3 separate regions of the Homo sapiens genome follow, and regions 1 and 3 are each linked to region 2. The links are contacts of gene promoters, found by promoter capture Hi-C in blood cells and fetal thymus (Javierre and others, 2016). All regions are on one chromosome and are shown on one strand. Each heading gives the region's core, a stretch centred on a gene start or on the middle of the fragment in contact. The rest is flanking DNA. Distances are from core to core; before and after follow the strand shown. Region 1 overlaps ZMIZ2 (zinc finger MIZ-type containing 2). Region 2 holds the start of OGDH (oxoglutarate dehydrogenase). Region 3 has its middle 12 kb from the start of PPIA.

Evidence for each region. The method cuts DNA at HindIII sites, captures the fragments that hold promoters and counts their contacts. A CHiCAGO score of 5 or more calls a contact.
Region 1: a fragment that was not itself captured here is called in contact with the fragment with the promoter of OGDH in region 2 in 8 of 17 cell types (total B cells, erythroblasts, endothelial precursors and 5 more); the score reaches 10.0 in total B cells.
Region 3: a contact is called between a fragment that was not itself captured here and the fragment with the promoter of OGDH in region 2, in 4 of 17 cell types (naive CD8 T cells, total B cells, activated CD4 T cells and 1 more). The highest score is 7.0, in naive CD8 T cells.

The regions. Positions count from the first base shown.
Region 1 is chr7:44,768,385-44,772,774 of GRCh38, reverse strand. It overlaps ZMIZ2 (zinc finger MIZ-type containing 2), which reads right to left. Exons shown (of 19, transcript NM_031449.4): 19 at 2,894-4,390. Among named protein-coding and RNA genes, the nearest start is that of ZMIZ2, 22 kb to the right of the region's middle. RefSeq lists enhancers at 4,291-4,390, 4,265-4,390. The HindIII fragment of the contact is 2,420 bases long and covers 1,575-3,994 here.
Region 2 is chr7:44,604,746-44,609,478 of GRCh38, reverse strand. It overlaps OGDH (oxoglutarate dehydrogenase), which reads right to left and starts at 2,852. Exons shown (of 23, transcript NM_002541.4): 1 at 2,826-2,852. RefSeq lists enhancers at 1,863-2,202, 1,878-2,441, 2,693-3,292 and a silencer at 2,423-2,652. The HindIII fragment of the contact is 8,395 bases long and covers 2,206-4,733 here.
Region 3 is chr7:44,806,219-44,810,999 of GRCh38, reverse strand. No RefSeq gene overlaps it. Among named protein-coding and RNA genes, the nearest start is that of PPIA, 12 kb to the right of the region's middle. The HindIII fragment of the contact is 4,939 bases long and covers 1-4,781 here.

The sequences.
Region 1 (4,390 bases), core at 1,535-4,034, 160 kb before region 2:
CAAGGCTTCAGGAGGAGGCCCTGACTTATCCTGGAGGCAGAGGGTTCTCCCAGGAATGGCGTCTTAGCTGAAGCCTGACCCAGAAGGTAGACGGGCAGGAACGAGGTAATGTGGAGACTGTTGGGAGCAGGCAAGGACTTCATCCCAAGGCAATGGGAGGCCCTCTGTACTCCCTCTTGTGATAACTGCTTCCCTTCTTTCGGGCAGTGCTCCTGACCCCACTCTAGCTGTGTGGGTGGGTCCCTACCTGGTTGAGTCAACCAGATCCCATCCCTGGGATTTTAAACTTGGAACCAGAAGGAGAGTGATCATCACCTCTTTTCTAGGGTGAATCAATGAGAAGTGAGGCTCCGAAGCTTGGATCTCAAGTTCACAGAAGCAGCTGGTTGAGGGTGAAGCTTGCACACAGAGGCCAAGGAAGGATGCCTACCCATGTCCAGCTGCCCCAGGGCCCTTTCAGGACTGCTATTTTGAGCCCCTTCCTTCCTTAACTGGTTTGAATTGGTCACCGTCACTTGCAACCTATTGAGTCCTAGCTAATGTACCATGACAGGGTTCAAGACTTGGTCAGAGAAGAGCTGGGGTATAGGATGCTGGGGAAGGGTACCCATTAATCCTCCCTTCTAAGTGGTAACTGAGAGAATGAACAAGAACAATATACAGTTAAATGAAAATAAAAAGGCACAGTGGCTCAAGCCTATAATCCCAGCACTTTGGGAGGCCGAGGCAGGCAGATCACAAGGTCAGGAGTTCGAGACCAGCCTAACCAACATGGTGAAACCCCATCTCTACTAAAATTACAAGAATTAGCCAGGCGTGATGGCGCGCCACCTGTAATCCCAGCTGCTCAGGAGGCTGAGCAGGAGAATCACTTGAACCCGGGAGGCGGAAGTTGCAGTGAGCTGAGATCATGCCACTGCACTCCAGCCTGGGCGACAGAGCAAGACTCCGTCTTAAAAAAAAAAAAAAAGAAAATAAACACAGACGCTTTAAGGATCAGTTAACAACAAGACACAGACTCTAATATTCACTGACATAAAGTTTCAGAAAGGGCAAAATTAATCTCTGGTGACAGGGGCCAGAACAGTGATGACCTGGGGTGGGGTGTGGGTTGGTCTCTCCTGTGAGGTTTGGAAGGGCAGGTACACACGCGTGTGCACTTACCAAAACCTACTGCACTGTGCATCCGACTGCACTGATGTCCCTGGCTTCTTTGAGGCAACTTGGGTGACAGGCCATCCTGAGCCAGTCATGTCTTGCCCTCCCACTCAGGGCAGGCAGGATGGGCTGTCTCAATGGCCCCCAAAGCCTGGAAGGCTGGAAGGGTGGCAAGGAGGAAACCCACAGTGGGTAGAGTTACAGGGGTCAGAAGTGGGGGCCACTGCCTGCTGGGGAAGGCCACTGGAGGAAGCTGGGGCAGAATGGGAGGGAAGCTGGCCCCTCACATGAATACGGGGAATTAGGAAGTGTTTTCTCCTCCACAATGTTTGGGAGAATTTGGGGATTTATGTCCATTCTTTAGCATTTGGTAGAATTCACCATCTGGTCCTGGGCTTTTCTTTTGTTGGGAAGCTTTTGATGACTGGTTCTACCTATGTGTTTTAGGTTGGTTCAGATTTTTTCCTTTTTCTTCTTTTTTTGAGGTCAGGTCTCTGTCTCTGCCTCATTCCTGGCTGGAGTGCAGTGGTGCTGTCATAGGTCGTTGCAGCTTTGAACTCCTGGGCTCTAGCTATCCTCCTGCTTCAGCCTCCCAAGTAGCTGGGGCTACAGGCACGTGCCATGACACCTGGTTGATTTCTAAAGATTTTGTCGAGGCAGGGTCTCTGTTGCCCAGGCTGGTCTCGAACTCCTGGCCTCAGGCCATCCTCCTAACTAGTTCTCCCCAAGTGCTGGGATCACAGGTGTGAGCCACTGCACCTGGCCCTGTTCAGATTTTCTATTTTTCCTGGGACAATTTTGGTCATTTGTATCTTTCTAGGAATTTTTTTGTTGTTGTTTTGAGACAGAGTCTCACTCTGTCACCCAAGCTGGAGTGCAATGGCATGATCTCAGCTCACTGCAACCTCTGCCTCCTGGGTTCAAGTGATTTTCCTGCCTCAGCCTCGTGAATAGCTGGGATTACAGGTGTGAGCCACCACGCCTGGCTAATTTTTGTGTTTTTAGTAGAGACAGGGTTTCACCACTTTGGCCAGGTTGGTCTCGAACTTCTGACCTCAGGTGATCTGCCTGCCTCGGCCTCCCAAAGTGCCGCGATTACAGGCGTGAGCCACCACACCCAGCCAAGATGTCGCATCTTTTTAAATGTTGGCATTTGCAGCTATAAATTTCCCTCAGAGCAGTTTTTGCCGCATTCCTTAAGTTCTGGTATGTTGTTTTCATCCATCTCTATTTCCTAATTTTTCTCGTGATTTCTCCTTTGACCCTTTGGCTGTTAAAAAGTGTGTTCAATTTCTATGTATGTGTGAATTTTCATTTTCCTTCTGGTATGGATTTCTGGTTTTATTCCATTGTGATTGGAGAAGGTGGTTTGCAGGATTCCGATCTCTAATTTACTGAGACTTGCTTTGTGCACTAACGTGTGGTCTGTCCTGGAGAACGTTCCCTGTGCACTTAGAAACGTGTGTTCTGCTGCTATTGGGTGGAGCACTGTTAAGTCTGGTCAGCCTTTTGGTTTTTATGTAATACTTGGCACATTCACAAGAAAATGTGTGAAACAGAAAGTACGACAAAGTGAAACCCACGAAGCCACCACTGACCCTGAGGTTCAAAACCTCCAGCATCTCTGCTCTTCCCTAAGCACAGCTCCGTCCCCTCCCCACGGGTGAGCACTGTGTTGTACTGACTCCCTGCCCTCCCTGATGACTTTAGCACCTGGGTATGAATTCCACACATATTTGGTTTTGAGCTTTATAAAAATGGCATCATACTGTATGAACTGTCTTGCTTTTTCATCCCACGTTGTTTCTGAGAGGTGTTTGTGATGGAGCACAGGGCCACGGTGCCCATGCATTCCTCAATCATTTCTCCAGTCTTCTGAGGATGGGCTTCTGGGTTGTTTGCAGCCTTTTGCTTGTCCCAGTCTCCTAGTTTCTCCACTCCATCCGGGAGCATCACGTTTGCAACAGGCAGGGCAGGTGGTGCATCAGATGTCCAGGACACAGTCATTTGACACCCAAGAAAGGAGGGCCTGGGGCCTGCATCAGGCCATGGCTGAGTGGGACTTTGCCAGGCTGTCTCCGCACCCAGCGACAGGACTGTGCGTGCTGCTGCTTCTTTTGTTTCCTCCACTTCTGTTCCCTCATCCAGAGAGGGCGGAAGAGCTGGAAACAGAGGCTTTGTCAGGGAATAAGGAAGCCCACCTGTGTGGTCCCAAATGTCGCAGGGGCAACGCTCACACCAGATACCTCCCTCCTCCTCCTCCCTGCAGCCTCTGGGCTCCCACAGACAGATGCCCTCCTCTAGTGCCTCCAGGGGCAGGCCTTGGCCGCCAGCCTGAGGATGCCCAGCGCTCCCCTCCTCCCCTAGGTTCCTGTGTTCCCCCAGTTCTTGCCTCTCCTGCTGGCTGGCTGGGAAGGCCCTCAAGGATGGGGCCCAGGACTGGAGGAAATGGTGACCCGGACCCCCACCAAGCTGGACAGGCAGATGGTAGGCAGGACACACCTCTGCAATCTCTGGGAAGTGACAAGCAGAGGCCTCCCAGGGACAAGAGCTGAGAAGGATGAGCCCCTGGCTGGGCTGGGGCTGCCAAACAACTGTCTCAGTGCCCCAGGGCAAGCCCAGATAAGGTGACATAGTGGCAAATGTCTCTCCTGGGCAAGCCTGGGATGCTTCACAAAACAGCTCTTCAGCTGAAGCCAACTTGGAAAATTCCAGGGAAAAGGAAATTTACTATGGGGCGGGAATAGCCGAGCCTTGGCTTGAAACATCCAGAGCTCAACCTGGGGCCCCAAAAGCCACTTGAAGGTCGACCTGGCCCCCAGGTCCTGCACAAGCTTTGCAGGCACAGCCCAAGCTTTAGGCAGGTCGCTGGCTTACGAGGAGAAAATAGTCCCTGGGAGCACAAAGGAGGGACTCGGCCAGGCCCACCAAGAGGGAGTCCTTTAATAGAGATCGGCACAGACAGGAGACACAACAGCCCAGGCGCCCTGCTCGCACAGGCTGGGGCCCTGAGCCAACAGATGCAGTGGCTTCCTCCTCCCCCACCTGGGTGTGGGCCCATGGGGTGGAGACAGAGAGGTGGCTTTAAAAAACACAGCTGTACTAATTCTTCACTTTCACAGAGAAGGGGAACTTGGGAGCGCAGCCCGCTAGAGAATCTTTACACAGAGCTGAATCTGAGAGCCCACCCACCCACCTCGGCCAGGCCGAAGCTCACTGTCCCCCACCCATT
Region 2 (4,733 bases), core at 1,603-4,102:
GAGTGCAGTGGCGCGATCTCGGCTCACCGCAGCCACCACAGCCTAGGCTCAAGCGATCCTCCCACCTCAGCTTCCTGAGTAGCTGGGATTACAGGAACACACCACTGCGCCTGGCTAATTTTTTTTTTTTTTTTTTTTTGTAGAGACGAGGTCTCACTATGTTCCTCAGACTCGAACTCCTGGGGCTCAAGCGATCTGCCTGCCTCAGCCTCCCAAAGTTGCTAGGATTACAGGCGTAAGCCACTGCGCCTGGCCAAGGAATGAACTACCCATAACACGCAACAACCTGGATGATTCTCCAGGGAATTAAGCTGACTGGAAAAAACCAATCCCAAAAGGCTCTATGAATCCTTTTATTTGGCATTCTTGACATGCCAAAATTAGGGAAATGAAGAACAGATTAGTGGTTACCAGGAGTTGAAGGACTGGGAATGGGAGGAATGTGGGTGTGGCTATAAAAAAGCAATGGAAGGGATCCTTGTGATGACGGGAATATTCTGTATCTTGAATTTTATTAATGTCAATATCTGGCTGTGATATTTACTATAGTTTTGCACAATGTTAGAGAAGTGGGAAAGGAACACAGGATCTCTCTGTACTATTTATTATGACTGCATAGAATAAATTTTTATGTACAATTTCTTAAAATTTTACTGTTTTCAAAATGAATTTCTCAATAATTTGTACAATGATCTCAAAAATTACCTAAAAATCTAAAAAGTAGATGATACTGTAGTTTTTTCTTTCCTTTTTTTTTTGAGATGGAGTCTTGCTCTGTCGCTCAGGCTGTAGTGCCGTGGCGCCATCTCGACTCGCTGCAACCTCTGCCTCCTGCGTTCAAGCGATTCTCCTGCCTCAGCCTCCTGCTGAGGCTGGAGGAGCTCAGCCTGTAGCTGAGACTACAGGCCCACGCCACCATGCCCTGCTAACTTTTGTATTTTTAGTAGAGACAGGGTTTCACCATGTTGGCCAGGCTGGTCTCAAACTCCCAACCTCAGGGGATCCACCCACCTCGGCCTCCCAAAGTGCTAGGATTACAGGCGTGAGCCACTGCGCCCGGCCTTTTTTTTTGAGACAGGATCTCACTGTGTCACCCAGGCTAGAGTGCAGTGGGGCAATAATGGCTCACTGCAGCTTGGACCTCCCTGGCTCATGCCATCCTCCCGCCTCAGCCTCCTGAGTAGTTGCGACTACAAGTATATGTGGTATATGCCACCATATCCGGATAATTTTATTTTTTGTAGACGCCGGGTATCACTTTGGTTGCTCAGGCTGGTCTCCTTGAACTGAGCTCAAGGGATCTTCCTTTCACACTCCCAAAGTGTGGGGATTACAAACGTGAGCCACCACGACTGGCCGAAATTGTGCACGTCAAATGGGTGAATCGTATGGTATGTGAATTTTATCTCAATAAAGATGTTATTTAAAGGGAAAAAGTAACTGAAATGTGAAAAGTGCGCTTAAAAAAAATAATGAGGGGCCGGGCGCAGTGGCTCACGCCTGTAATCCCAGCACTTTGGGGGCCGAGGCGGGCGGATCACCTGAGGTCAGGAGTTCGAGAATAGCCTGGCCAAGGTGGTGAAAACCCGTCTCTACTAAAAATACAAAAATTAGCCGGGCGTGATGGCGCGTGCCTGTAATATCAGCTACTTGGGAGGCTGAGGCAGGAGAATCACTTGAACCCAGGAAGGCAGAGGTTGCAGTGAGCCGAGATCGCGCCACAGCACTCCAGCCTGGGCGACAGAGACTCCATCTCAAACAAGACAACAACAACAAAAAATGAGCATACAGTGATCTTTATTCAACTTCCCAAGATCCAGTCCTCAGCTAATTTACAAAACTACAATAGTGTTACATACTCTCCTAGGTCTACACGGCAAAGTACAGTTTGACTGTTGCAACTAGTGCTGCCTTACAAAAAAAGGCTTTATCCCATGCCACCCATCCTAAACCCAGCTGTTCAGAGCAGTGTACCTGGAAATCAGCCTCAAAGTACGGACTGCAAGACAAGGCACAAGGAAACCCTAACACGAAGTCCTATGTTCTGGGCAAAGGGATGGGGATGGCAGGTGGGACGCACCCAGGTCAGGGCGAGGGCGCGGCAAGTTTTCTATTAAATCTCAGTAGATTACAACTCATATCCAATGTCTGATATATTTTCGAGGGAAAATGGTGCTTGAAAGATGTTTCTACGAGAAATAAGCTTCATCTCGGTCAATCTGTTCGACCCAACTTCTGGCAGCAGGTGTGGGGGCGGCGCCAAGGTCTGCGCGGTAATCCAAACAGGCAGTCCCACCCAGGGCCACCCCAAAGCCAGATGCTCCGACGCAACTCGAGCAGGCCACACTGTCTTTCGGACAAAGCGACGCGGTCCTCACAGGCGGGAAGGAGAGTGCGTCCCGGTCGGGAAGGACGCCGTCGGAGAGCGGCCTAACCACGTGACGCCCGCGGCGACCTTGGGGGTCACCCCTGCGGACGCACCGCCCTCTCCCTCACATCCGCCGCCGCGCCCGCCCCCCGCTCGCCCACCGCCAATGGCGCGTCGCTCCGCGCCCCGCGCGACCTCGGAGCCCGCCCGTACCCGCCAATCTCCGCCCGCCGGGCAGGCCCCGCGGCTCCATTGGCTGCCACGGCCATCCATCAGGTCCCGTCCCTCCTACCACCCTCCGTGAGCCCCACTCCATCCAGCTCCACTCCCCTGTCACCGCGGCGCCCGCAGCACCAAGGGCGCGGCGGCCTCCCCCTTTACCGCGATCTCCAACCCCGGGCCGCCAAGCGCCGCGACACCCGGCACTGGGACGGGCGCGGCGACAGCGCACGGTTACCTGTCTCCGGCTCAGCTCCACCCGAATGAGGCGCCGACACCCCACTCCGGGGCTCCAAACTCTCGGCCCCGCCCCGGCGTATGGCGTCAACACGTAGCCCTCCCCTGGAGAAGAATGCCCTCCCCTCTTACAGAGGACCGATTCGTGACGTCACAGAGCCGCGCCGGGCGTCACAGCGCCGACTGCGCAGTTGCAGAAGCCAGGGCCAGCTGGAGCCCAGCTGTTTGCTCCGCTAGAGAGATGAGGTTGTCTATGGACTTCCAGCGGCTTCTGCTATCATAAATAATTTCTGAAAGTAAGATATCTCTAGCGCCTGGTAGGAACCTATCAAGAGATAGTTGGGTTGATGTGAAACTTAGCGCACAAAAATAAACAATTTGAATAACAGAATCTCCGTTTTTGAGATTGTCCTGGGTCAGGCTTTGTGACAAGCGCTTCACCGGCGCTATTGTGTAACAATCTGTGAGACAGGTGTTCCTATCCCCGGTCTACAAATGACAGTTGGCAGTGCTGGGATCTTGCCCGGGATCTTGCCTGGGTTTTCTTGACTTTAGAGCTACCTATCAAAGATAAAACGTGGCTAATTAACCTGTCACAACCTGTTGATTGTAAGATGTTCCCTATTTTAAAGTATTAAAATTTGGGGAAAGGCCGGGCGCGGTGGCTCACGCCTGTAATCCCAGTACTTTGGGAGGCCGAAGCGGGCGGATCACTTGAGGTCAGGAGTTCGAGACCAGCTTGACCAACATGGGGAAACCCCGTCTCTACTAAAAATACAAAAATTAGCTGGGCGTGGTGGCGATCCCAGCTACTCGGGAGGCTGAGGCAGGAGAGTCGCTAGAACCCGGGAGACGGAGGTTGCGGTGTGCCGAGATCGTGCCATTGCACTCCAGCCTGGGCAACAAGAGCGAAAATCCGTCTCAAAAAACAAACAAAAAAAGGGGGCGTATAAGTGCTTATTATAGAACAAAGTTAGGGTAATGTATGTGACAAGGATCTAGAGACTGGAAGAGGTGAAGAGACCAAGGAACAAACTTCTGTATTCTTTTTTCCTTTTTTTTTTTTAAATAAATTACGGTAAAAATGTATGTACTAAACATTTGCAGCTGGGTGCAGTGGCTCACGCTTGTAATCCCAGCACTTCGGGAGGTGGAGGCGGGAGGATCGCTTGAGCTCAGGAGTTCCAGATCAGCCTGGGGAACAGAGCAAGATCTCATTTCTACTAAAAAATCAAGAAAATTAGCCAGGTGTAGTGGCACTCACCTGTAGTCTCAGCTAATTGGGAGGCTGAGGCAGGAGGATCTCTTGAGCCTGAGAGATTGAGGCTGCAGTGAGCTATGATTGTACCACTGCACTCCAGCCTGGGCCAGAGAGCAAGATACTGTCTTTTTTTTTTTAATGCCATTTTAACCATTTTTAGGTGTATAACTCAGTGGCATTAATTACATTCACAATATTATGCAACCGTCACCACTCAATTTCCAAAACTTTTTCATCACCTGAAACAGCAACTCTGTAACCATTAAGCAATAACTTCCTATTTCCCCTTCTCCTCCTGTCCTTCTCTCCTTTGGTAACCTCTATTATACGGTCTCTATACATTTGATTACTCAATTACTTTATGTGGGTGAAATCATAATGTATATGTCCTTTTGTGTCCACCTTATTTCATTGAGCATGAGGTTGTCAAGGTTTATCTGTGTTGTAGCATGGGTCAGAACTTCATTTCTTTTTTTTTTTTTTGAGACAGGATCTCCCTCGGTTTCAGGCTGGAGGGCAGTGGTGCCATCTCAGCTCACTGCAATCTCTGCCACCCAGGTTCAAGTGATTCTGATGCCTCAGCCTCCCAAGTAGCTGGGACTACTGGCACGCTCCACCATGCCTGGCTAATATTTTTTTCTTTTTCTT
Region 3 (4,781 bases), core at 1,077-3,576, 200 kb before region 2:
TTATTTATTTTTGAGATGGAGTTTTACTCTTGTCGCCCAGCCTAAAGTGCAATGGCACGATCTCAGCTCACTGCAACCTCCACCTCCCAGGTTCAAGCAATTCTCCTGTCTCAGCCTCCTGAGTAGCTGGGATTACAGGCATGTGCCACCACGCCCGGCTAATTTTTTATTTTTTAGTAGAGATGGGGTTTCACCATGTTGGCCAGGCTGGTCCTGAACTCCTGACCTCAGATAATTCACCTGCCTCGGCCTGGAATTGCAGGCGTGAGCCACCGCACCCAGCTGTTTTATTTCTTTTGGAGACAAGGTCTGGCTCTATCACCCAGGCTGGAGTGCAGTGGCACAATCACGTCTCACTGCAAACTCCACGTCTCACTGCAAACTCCACCTCTCAGGCTCAAGGGATTCTCCCACCTCAGCCACCTGAGTAGCTGGGACCACAGGCTCGCATCCAGTGTGACCACAGGCTCACACCTGGCTAATTTTTGTATTTTTTGTAAAGATGGGGTTTCACTATGTTGCCCAGGCTGGTCTCCAACTCATGAGCTCAAGCAATCTACCTGCCTTGGCCTCCCAAAGTGCTGGGATTACAGGAGTGAGCCACCGTGCCCAGCTGTCCTGAACTTTTTTTTTTTCTTTGATACACAGTCTCGCTCTGTCTCCAGGCTGGAGTGCAGTGGCATCTGCCTCCCAGGTTCAAGTGATTCCCCTGCCTCAGCCTCTTGAGTAGCTGGGACTACAGGTGCGTGCCACCACCCCCGGCTAATTTTTTGTATTTTAGTAGAGACAGTGTTTCACCATGTTGGCCAGGTTGGTCTCGATCTCCTGACCTTGTGATCCACCTGCCTCAGCCTCCCAAAGTGCTGGGATTACAGGCGTGAGCCACTGCGCCCAGCCTGTCCTGAACTTTTAAAAGAGTCAACATCGGCTGGGCGCAGTGGCTCACGCCTGTAATCCCAGCACTTTGGGAGGCCGAGTTTGGAGGATCACTTGAACTCAAGAGTTCGAGACCGACCTGGACAACATCGTGAAACCCCCTCTCTACTAAAAATACAAAAATTAGCTGGGCGTGGTGGCATCAGCCTCTAATCCCAGCTACTTGGGAGGCTGCGGAAGGAGAATTACTTGAACCTGGGAGGCGGAGGTTGCAGTGAGTGAAGATCGCCCATTGCACTCCAGCCTGGGTGACAGAGTGAGACTCTGTCTTAAAAAAAAAAAAAAAAAAAGAGGCCGGGCGCGGTGGCTCACGCCTGTAATCTCAGCACTTTGGGAGGCCGAGGCGGGCGGATCACGAGGTCAGGAGATCGAGACCATCCTGGCTAACAAGGTGAAACCCCGTCTCTACTGAAAATACAGAAAATTAGCCGGGCTTGGTAGCGGGCGCCTGTAGTCCCAGCTACTCGGGAGGCTGAGGCAGGAGAATGGCGTGAACCTGGGAGGCGGAGCTTGCAGTGAGCCGAGATCGCGCCACCGCACTCCAGCCTGGGTGACAGAGCAAGACTCCGTCTCAAAAAAAAAAAAAAAATCATTTTCACTTAAGGGAAACAATGTCGCCATGCACCTGTAATCCCAGCTACTCAAGAGACTGAGATTTAGCCAGTCCCCTAAGATGAATATTTATATTTCCTAAAATTGCATTCATACAGAACCATTGATTCAAATAAACAAGAAAAACATGGAGTAAAAAAAAATAAAGTCCAGGAGTCCAGTCCTGCACTGAGTTCAGGAGTTTGAGGCTTCAGTGAGTTATATTGCACCACTGCACTCCAGGTTGAGTGACAGAGCAAGACTCCATCTCTAAACAAACAAACAAACAAAGTGGGAAGGAGCAAAGACCACACAGTGTATGATTCACTGTAAAAGTCCAGCCAGGCCCAGTGGCTCACACCTGTAATCCCAGCACTTTGAGAGACAGACGTGGGAGGACTGCTTGAGCCCAGAGATCGAGACCAGCCTGGGCAACGTGATGAGACCTCTTCTCTACAAAAAACTTAAAAATTACCCAGACGTGGTGGTACATAGCTGTGGTCCCAGCTACTTGGGAGGCTGAGGCAGGAGGATCACTTGAGCCCAGGAGGTCAAGGTGTTAGTGAATGATGTTCGTGCCATTGCACTTTAGCCTGGGTAACAGAGCAAGACCCTGTCTTAAAAAAAAAAAAAAAAAAAAGTCCAGAAACAACAAATCTATAGAGACAGAAGGCATGTTTGCAGTTGCCAGGTGGTGAGGGGACTGCAGTTGAAGCAAGATTGACCACATATGGAAACAAGGCCTTGTACTGGGGTGATGGAATGCTCTAAAACTAACTGAAAATTATTGAACTGTGCTCTTAAAAAGGGTAATTTTGGCCAGGTGCAGTGGCTCACTCCTGTAATCCCAGCACTTTGGGAGGCCAAGATGGGTGGATCACCTGATGTCATGAGTTTGAGGCCAGCTTGGCCAACATAGTGAAACCCCGTCTCTACTAAAAATGCAAAAATTAGGTGGGCGTCTGTAATCCCAGCTACTTGGGAGGCTGAGGTGGGAGAATCACTTGAATCCAGGAGGGGGTGGTTGCAGTGAGCCAAGATCAAGGCCACTGCACTCCAGCCTGAGTGACAAAGACAGACTCCATCTCACACACACACAAAAAAGGTAATTTCATGGTATGTAAATTATAATCTCAATAAATTTTTAAAAGCTAGTAAGCAGAAATTACAGGTTTTGGTTTTGTTTTGTTTTTTAAGGTGGAAAGACTGCTCTGGAGTAAAAGAAACCAAAGACACCTAACAGTCAAATGTAATGTGTAAAACTAAATTAGATCCTGGGAATGGTGGAGAGAGGAGGAACAGTTATAAAAGACATTCTAATTGTATGTAAATTATACCTTAATAAGAATGATTTTAAAAATACATCCTCATAGAAAGAGCAGGATTGAAATAGAATTTTTTTTTATTTCTTCAAAAAAAAAAAAAAAAAAAAAAAAAACAGGCCAGGCATGGTGGCTCACACCTGTAATCCCAGCACTTTGGGAGGCCGAGGTGGGCAGATCACCTGAGGTCAGGAGTTCGAGGTCAGCCTGATCAACATAGTGAAACCCCATCTCTACTAAAAATACAAAAATTAGCTGGGCATGGTGGTGCCTCCCAGCTACTTGGCAGGCTGTGGCAGGAGAATCACTTGAACCTAGGAGGTGGAGGTTGCAATGAGCTGAGATTGTGCCATTGCACTCCAGCCTGGGTAACAAGAGCGAAACTCTATCTCAAAAAAAAAATAATAAAAATATGGAATACATGTGTAGAACATGCGGGTTTGTTACATAGGTATATGTGTGCCATGGTGGTTTGCTGCACCTATTAACCCTGAAATAGAATTTTATTTATTTATTTATTTTGAGACAGAGTCTCGCTCTGTTGCCCAGGCTGGGGTGCAATGGTACGATCTTGGCTCACTGCAGCCTTCATCTCCCAGGTTCAAGCGATTTTCCTGCCTCGGCCTCCTGAGTAGCTGGGATTACAGACATGCACCACCATGCCTGGCTAATTTTGTATTTTGAGTAGAGATGGAATTTCACCATGTTGGCCAGGTTGGTCTCGAACTCCTGACCTCAAGTGATCTGCCCACCTCGGCCTCCCAAAGTGCTGAGATTACAGGCATGAGCCACCGTACCTGGACTGAAAAAGAATTTTAAAAAGCAATAAACATAAAAACACATTATAAGAACAAGGGGGAACATCTGACTGTGAACCAGATATTATAGATTTTACAGATTTTCTGAGGTGGAGAAAGGCATTGGCTGACTTTCCCAGAAATAGTTCTTGTGTTCTCAAAGACCCTGAGGCCACACTCTAACCCAGCCTGCTCAACTTGCCTTCTCCTGGGAGCCTGCCTCATAATAGTGGCAATTTCGACCTTTCTTTGCACAATTAGGTTTGTGCTTGCTTCTCACTTTTTCTCAATATGTTTTTAGGGACACAGGTGCTAGAGATTGATGAACACAAAAATTGGAATCATGGGCTGAGCACGCCTGTAATCCCAGCACTTTTGGAGGCCGAGGCAGGAGGATCACCTGAGGTAGGGAGTTCGAGACCAGCCTGACCAACATGGAGAAACCCAGTCTCTACTAAAAATACAAAATTAGCCGGGCATGGTGGCACATGCCTGTAATCCCAACTACTCGGGAGGCTGAGGCAGGAGAATCGCTTGAACCTGGGAGGCGGAGGGTTGCGGTGAGCCGAGATTGCATCATTGCACTCCAGCCTGGGCAACAAGAGCAAAACTTCATCTCAAAAAAAAAAAAAAAAATTGGAATCATGGTTCCCTCTGAAGAGGAAAGAGCGTGCAACTGAAGAGGGCTTGCAAAGGGCATTTCTGGGATACTAGTAGATATGCTGGGGTTCTTTTTATTTCTGGTCTTTAAACTGTATTTTATAGACTTGTGGTAGGCAACTCTTAAAGATGGTCCCTTATCCCCACCTCTATAAATTGGGTTTCATCATGTTGGCAAGGCTGGTCTCGCACTCCTGACCTCGTGATTCACCCGCCTTGGCCTCCCAAAGTTCTGGGATTACAGGCATGAGCCACCATGCCCGGCCGCCTGGGTAATTTTTCTGTTTTTAATATAGACAGAGTTTCACCATGTTGCACAGGCTGGTCTTGAACACCTGGGTTCAAGCGATCTGCCTGCATTGGCCTCCTGGGTGCTGGGATTACGGGCGTGAGCCACCATGCCCAGCCTAGAATATTTGTAAAGGGATCAGAAGGGGTCTATCACACAGTTACTGTGATATTTCTTCTGAGCCTT